2 separate regions of the Homo sapiens genome follow, and region 1 is linked to region 2. The links are contacts of gene promoters, found by promoter capture Hi-C in human tissues and cell types (Jung and others, 2019). All regions are on one chromosome and are shown on one strand. Each heading gives the region's core, a stretch centred on a gene start or on the middle of the fragment in contact. The rest is flanking DNA. Distances are from core to core; before and after follow the strand shown.

Region 1 (3,316 bases), core at 657-3,156, 370 kb before region 2:
CGAGGAGGGCGGATCACGAGGTCAGGAGTTCGAGACCAGCCTGACCAACGTGGAGAAACCCCATCTCTACTAAAGATAGAAAAATTAGCTGGGCATGTGGTGGGCACCTGTAGTCCCAGCTCCTCGGGAGGCTGAGGCGGGAGAATTGCTTGAACCTGGGAGGCGGAGGTTGCAGTGAGCCTAGACTGTGCCACTGCACTCCAGTCTGGGCGACAGAGCGAGATTCCATCTCAAAAAAAAAAAAAAAATTAAATTCCTTCTCCCCCAAGCACAAGTCTGTGGGACTTTTTCACATCTTTAAGTTTTGTTACAAAAGTGTTGTGTTTACTATAACAAATTTTAATAGTAGAAAAGTTAGAGCCGGGCACGGTGGCTCACGCCTGTAATCCCAGCACTTTGGGAGGCCAAGGTGGGCGGATCACGAGGTCGGGAGATCGAGACCATCCTGGCCAACACGGTGAAACCCCATCTCTACTAAAAATACAAAAAAATTAGCCGGGCGTGGTGTTGGGCGCCTGTAGTCCCAGCTACTCTGGAGGCTGAGGCAGGAGAACGGCGTGAACCTGGGAGGCGGAGCCTGCAGTGAGCCAAGATCGCCACCACACTCCAGCCTGGGCGACAGAGCGAGACTCCGTCTCCAAAAAAAAAAAAAAAGAAACCGAAACCCTGGCCTAACCCAAGCACGCACTCCAGATGCTCTACGGGGGCCAGAGTGGGGCCTGAATGGCCGGGGGGTCGCCCTGGGTTGATGGGGGACACAGAGTCCACCTGAGCGCCAGAGCTGCGCTTCAGGAATGACTGTGGGCCCTGTCCCCAGGCAGGTACGTGAGCTTCACAGAACGCAGGGACAGGCCTCTGGCCATGGCCAGCCTTGGAGAAGCCACTCTGACCTCAGCCCCTCCCTGTGCACCTGTGTGTGGTCTGCCCGCTGCCTGGCGCCTCATTCCAGGGCTGCCCAGCTGGTCCCCAGAGTTCTCCCAGGGCTCCCACCCTGATATCCTCCTAACTGGGGCCAGGCCTGGGGACACCCCTCTACCCCATCCTCTTGCCTAAATCTCCCCCAGGAGCCCAGTACCTGCTCAACAGATACCCAGGATGTCCCCCACTTCCTGCCTTAACTGGGCTCTCTTCCCTGCAGACCTTGCCTCCCCAGGCCTTGGAGACCCACCCTCCTGGTGTCCTCCTCTCTTCCTAGTGGACCTCAGGCTGCAGGTGACCTTGACCCTCCTGTGACCTCTGCTGCCTCAGCCCTGCCCCCTTGCTGCCATCCTTTACCTTCACAGACAGCCTTGGAACCCCATCTCTCCAGAGGATGCCACCGTCCATACTGTCCCCTACCCCATCTCACCTGGGCACCCTTGAGGGTGGCAGGGAGTGAGGGTGGCATGGACACAGGCTGCCCATTCTGCAGATCTTTTTTTGTTTTTTGAGACGGAGTCTCGCTCTGTCGCCAGGCTGGAGTGCAGTGGCGCAATTTTAGCTCACCGAAACCCGCCTCCTGACTTCAAGTGATTCTCCTGCCTCAGCCTCCTGAGTAGCTGGCACTACAGGCACGCACCACCATGCCCAGCTAATTTTTGTATTTTTAGTAGAGACTAGGTTTCACCATGTTGGTCAGGATGGCCTCAATCTCTTGACTTTGTGATCTGCCCGCCTCGGCCTCCCAAAGTGCTGGGATCATAGGTGTGAGCTACCAAGCCCAGCCTCTTTTTTTTTTTTTTGAAACCGAGTTTCGCTCTTGTTGCCCAGGCTGGAGTGCAATGGCGCGATCTTGGCTCACTGCAACCTCTGCCTCTCGGGTTCAAGCAATTCTCCTGCCTCAGTCTCCCGAGTAGCTGGGATTACAGGTGTGCACCACCACACCCGGCTAATTTTTTTGTATTTTAAGTAGAAATGGGGTTTCACCATGTTGGCCAGGCTGGTCTTGAACTCCTGACCTCTGGTGATCCACTCACCTCGGCCTCCCAAAGTGCTGGGATTACAGGCGTGAGCCACTGTGCCCAGCTCTGCAGATCTTTTTTGGACGGAGTCTCGCTCTGTTGCCCAGGCTGGGGTGCAGTGGTGCAATCTCAGCTTACTGCAGTCTCCACCTCCTAGGCTCAAACGATCCTCCTGCCTCAGCTTCCTGAGGAGCTGGGACCACAGGTGTGCACCACCGTGCCTGCCTAATTTTTTTGCATTTTTGGTAGAGACAGGGTTTCAACATGTTGCCCAGGCCAGTCTCGAACTCCTGAGCTCAAGTGATCCTCCCAGCACAGCCTCCCAATGTGATGGGATAATTGACATGAGCCACCACACCTGGCCCCGTTCTACTGATCTTGAGCTGAGACTGACCTGCAGGGCCACAGGACACCCCACGAGCTCAGCAGCACCCCTTGTGCTCACACAGGCCTACGCGGCTGTAGGCTGGACCCTGGCTTGGCCTCACCCTTGGGACATGAAGGGCTGGCCGGGGTGAGGCTAGACCATGAGGGCTCTGACAAGAGGACCAAGCACCGGGGCCCCGAGCCTGCCCCGCTGGAGACTGAGGCCACCTCTGCCCGCAGGTCTCTGAAGGTCGGCCTGCAGATCTCCCTGGACTACTGGTGGTGCACCAATGTTGTCCTTCGAGGGGTGGAAGAGGTTTGTCCTGGTGCCCTGGGCACACAGTGGTGGGCATGAGGTGGTGGGCTGGGTGGGACTGAGGAGGCAGCCACCTGTCCCCATGTGTTCTCCCCATGCCTGTGGTCAGAACAGCCCAGGCTACTTGGAGGTGATGTCTGCGTGTCACCAGCGGGCGGCTGATGCCCTGGTGGCAGGGGCCATCAGCAACGGGGGCCTCTACGTGAAGCTGGGCCAGGGGCTGTGCTCCTTCAACCACCTGCTTCCCCCCGAGTATACCCGGACCCTGCGCGTGCTAGAGGACAGGGCCCTCAAGCGGGGCTTCCAGGAGGTGAGTGTGCGCTCAGGCCGAGGGAGGTGGGGCCTCCAGCAGTGGCCCCAGGCTGCTCTGAGCACCTGTCCTTCCAGGTGGATGAGTTGTTCCTTGAGGACTTCCAGGCCCTCCCCCACGAGCTCTTCCAGGAGTTTGACTACCAGCCAATTGCTGCCGCCAGCCTGGCACAGGTGCACAGAGCCAAGCTGCACGATGGCACCAGCGTGGCTGTGAAGGTATATGGGGGCTGCCTTGTTCAGCAGTGGGCTGGGGCGGGGCACAGTGGGGCCCCAAGTTCTCACCACACCCTCGCCCAGTGCAGGTGCAGTACATCGACCTGCGGGACCGCTTTGATGGGGACATCCACACCCTGGAGCTCCTGCTGCGGCTCGTTGAGGTCAT
Region 2 (3,679 bases), core at 42-2,541:
GCGCCCGCTGCTGGGGGCCCAGCTGCCGCCCCTCCGCCTGAGAGAAGTACACGGCCACATCCTGGAAGGTCAGCGGCATCTCCTGCAACAAAACATCGCCGCTGCCCAGGCCATGCCCACGGGGCAGCAGCCTGCACTAAAAGGGCCCTGACCTGGTGGGGCCCCACTACCCAGGGCCCTGCTGTGGTCAGTATGAACTGTGTATCAGCAGGTCCCTGATGGGGCAGCTGAGAGCGCTGAGGACCAGCCAACTTCAGCTACACGGGGACCCAGCTGAGCTCAGAGCCCCTCTCCCTGCAGGAGGGCGAGTCTACCTCTCAGAACCCTTTCCTCACGGTTGCTATGAGCCCCTGGCTGGCCTTACCAGTTGCCGGGCTCACGGCTCCAGAGGAGAGTAGCTTCTGACTGGGATGGGGATGAAGATGAAGAGGTGGGCAGGAAGGAGGGTTAACTCACCTGGTGCCCTGGAAGCTGGAATGTGGCTGCCATTCTGTGTGCATGGGCTGCTGTGGTTTCCAAGAGAAGACAGGAGACTGCCCTGGCCTGAAGTCTCCCCGAACTTACCTTCAGTGGGGAGAACTCAGGCTCAGCCCCATTCAACCAGGGGTGTGGAAGGATGGCCAGGAGGCAGAAGCTGATTGCTGCTGTGGCCTCCTGGGTCGCGGGAGGCAGGTCACTATGCAGCACGGGCCGACGTGCCCTACTGCTCAGTGACTCCTGAAATCCCAGAACGGCCAGAGCCAGAGCCCGGGGGGATCCAGGGACGCCCGGCTAAGGGGTGAAAGCTGGCAGTTCCCGTGGTCCAGACCTGCTGAAGGCCCTGGAAATGGGGTGCAGGGCCGTTCTACCTGCCTGGCCAACCTGGGGCAAAGAGCCACGTGAGGGTGCAGCCTCACCAAGGCTGAGGACGTGAGAAGGAGGCCGCGGGGATGCTGCCGAAGGCCCCAGGCTCCGGGGAGAGGCCGGAAGCCAGCTGTGGTCCTCAGTCCAGCCTTCTAGGGCCGCGCCGCGGTCGCCTCCTCCCGGCCTCTGCAGCCCGTCGGTGGCTCCCGCGGCACCCAGAACAGGCTCCTCCTGGACTGGCCGCCGCCTCCCCGCGCCCTCCCCGCGCCCTCCCCGCCTGCCTGCCCGCTTGGCGCTCCTTCCTGGTCCGACACTGCCCCACCTGTTTGCTCGACCCGGGGAAGCCACCGAGGAAGCGCCGAGGAGCTGCGCAGTCGCACCGAGCCCGGAACGGACCCTCCCACAGAACCGGGTCCAGAGCCGGGGAGGGGGCGGGCTAGGATGAAGAGGGCGGGCCGGGCCGAGCTGCGCACACGCAGGCTTCCCCGCCCCCTGCGGGGCCTCAGTACGCCTCCGAGAACGCCGGGAACCGGAAGCCAGCCGCGGTTCCGCCCGGATTCTTCCGGGGCCGCTCTGGGATGACTGGAGGCCTGCGCCGTCTATGGTCGGGGAGGGGGAGAGCCCACGGCAGCTGAGCGGAGGGTCTGGCGCGGTGACGCTGCGCATCCGGGCCGCGCCGCGCTCGCCCCGACCCTAAACCCTCACCTGAACCCTAACCCCGCTGGGCTCCCGGCTCCCCCGTCGGTCACCATACATCGTGTGTCCCGATTCACCATAACCACCAGAAAGTCGCTTATGAAGATGTTACAATTATCGGGGCTCAGAACACAACGCCCCAAAATGAAGGCCTGGGAGGCAGTTTCCCTCTGACCTTCCCAGGCCTCCAGTCTCAGTTCTTTTCTCCCGCGAGGCTCCTCACAGAGTGAATCCCTTTTACCCAAGGCGAGTCCCAGAGGCCAGACCCCCAAAGCCAGCCACAAAACCTAAAAACACGACTCTGATGTTCCCCCCGCTTTTCTGTGTGAAAACTGGCGGTAAAGGCCGGGCGTGGTGGCGGGCGTCTGTAGTCCCAGCTACTCCGGAGGCTGAGGCGGGAGAATCGCTTGAACCCGGGAGGCGGAGGTTGCAGTGAGCCGAGATCGCGCCACTGCACTCCAGCCTGGGTGACAGAGCGAGACTCCATCTCAAAAATAAATAATAAATAAATAAATAATCCATTTATTTGCCTTTTCTCCAAAAATCTGCCTTTTATGAGTTGGCTTTCAGTGAACCTTCAGAGGGCAAAGAGGAACTTTCCCTTTGGCCCCTACACAATAAAGCATGGTTGAAAAAATAGCACTTGATAAAGGTGAGGAGACCAGCTTAGGAGCAGGGGGAGAAGGAAAGGAAAGCCAAGCCATCTTGTCACCCAGAATATAGTGTAGGCCCTGTACACTGTGTTAGAATCAAGGCAGAAATTTTATATCTGAACTTGAGACGATCAACGAGGATGGAGAATGTCTAGAAGTCTAAAGCACCATGCAAAGTCACACATGATTAAGAAGATGCCTTACATTATTAATATCAGTGCTGGGGAGATTGTGGAGAATTACGCACTGCTATGCTTGAGGAAGCGTGTTTAGTACAATGTTGAAAATGAATTAAGCTGTACATAAAGAGCCTTAAACACTTCAATTAATCTAGGAATCTATCCTATGGAAATAACAAAAATGACAAAGAGAAGGGTGCCCATTCCAGAGTTTGTTGTGTGTGTGGTTTTTTTTAAATAATGGGGAGAATTTGGAAAATAGCTAGTTATTCATAGAAGGGGAAATGGAAGATAATTATGCTTTTTGCAGCACAGAAATAGATAAATCTATTGTCTTCTGTACACTCAGTTGAACATTATGCAGCCATTATGTGTGGTATTTGAAAAAAAAGTATTGGCAGAGGGTAATGCTTATGAAATAGAATGTGAAAAATAGAATACAAAATTATATTTATGATATGATCTCAATTGTATATATGGGTGTTTAAGTTCACAAACTTAAGGTTTCCAGATATAAGGACCTAGGTTGGTTTGTTCACTGCTCAGCCACCAGCCTGGAACATAGTAAGTACTCTATAAATACTTGGGAAGTGCTTGAAAAACGTATATAAAAAGCTGAAAATAAATACATCATTACTAGTTGTAAGATTGCAGAATATTTGATTTCCTCTTTTTCTTTTTCACATCTCCTACAGGGGGCGTGTAATCACTCTGTGACTGGTGGCTGCAGGCTCTCCTAATGGATATTTCCTATTTACAGGGCTACCAACTGCCAAGCATCCAAGCAGTCCCTAGGCAGCAATCCAGCAGCTGACAGGGTTACCGGCGTCAACTGCCACAGATGCTAGGCTGGTTTGCCATATTTACATGGATTTGATCAGCAATGAGCACAAAAGATAGAGATTGTTTCTTTCTTTCTTTTTTTTGAGGTGGAGTTTTACTCTTGTTGCCCACGCTGGAGCGCAATGGTGAGATCTTGGCTCACTGCAACCTCCACCTCCCAGGTACAAGTGATTCTCCTGTCTCAGCTTCACAAGTAGCTCGGATTACAGGCATGCAGGACCATGTCCAGCTAATTTTTTTGTATTTCGTAGAGACGGGGTTTCACCATATTAGTCAGGCTGGTGGCAAACTCCTGACCTCAAGTGATCCACCTGCGTCGGCCTCCCAAAGTGCTAGGATTACAGGTGTGTGCCACTGTGCCCAGCCTAGATTGTTTATTTCTTACTCAAACAGCTACAGCATGATCAGCAGCCTGTGTCCCTAGACACACAAGATGACAGCAAACCATAGGGGCCAGATGACAGA

The links. Contacts are between HindIII fragments. The study calls those that stand out against the background at their distance.
Region 1: a fragment that was not itself captured here is called in contact with the fragment with the promoter of ZNF251 in region 2 in 1 of the 25 tissues and cell types used here (H1 embryonic stem cells).

The regions. Positions count from the first base shown.
Region 1 is chr8:144,388,125-144,391,440 of GRCh38, forward strand. It overlaps ADCK5 (aarF domain containing kinase 5), which reads left to right. Exons shown (of 15, transcript NM_174922.5): 4 at 2,547-2,622; 5 at 2,732-2,932; 6 at 3,010-3,150; 7 at 3,237-3,316. Among named protein-coding and RNA genes, the nearest start is that of MIR939, 4.4 kb to the right of the region's middle. RefSeq lists an enhancer at 325-826. The HindIII fragment of the contact is 8,607 bases long and covers 1-3,316 here.
Region 2 is chr8:144,754,240-144,757,918 of GRCh38, forward strand. ZNF251 (zinc finger protein 251) reads right to left here and starts at 1,292. Exons shown (of 5, transcript NM_138367.2): 1 at 1,166-1,292; 2 at 457-564; 3 at 1-82. The coding sequence starts at 489. It overlaps LOC107986986 (a long non-coding RNA gene), which reads left to right. Exons shown (of 3, transcript XR_001746149.3): 3 at 3,067-3,679. The HindIII fragment of the contact is 22,211 bases long and covers 1-3,679 here.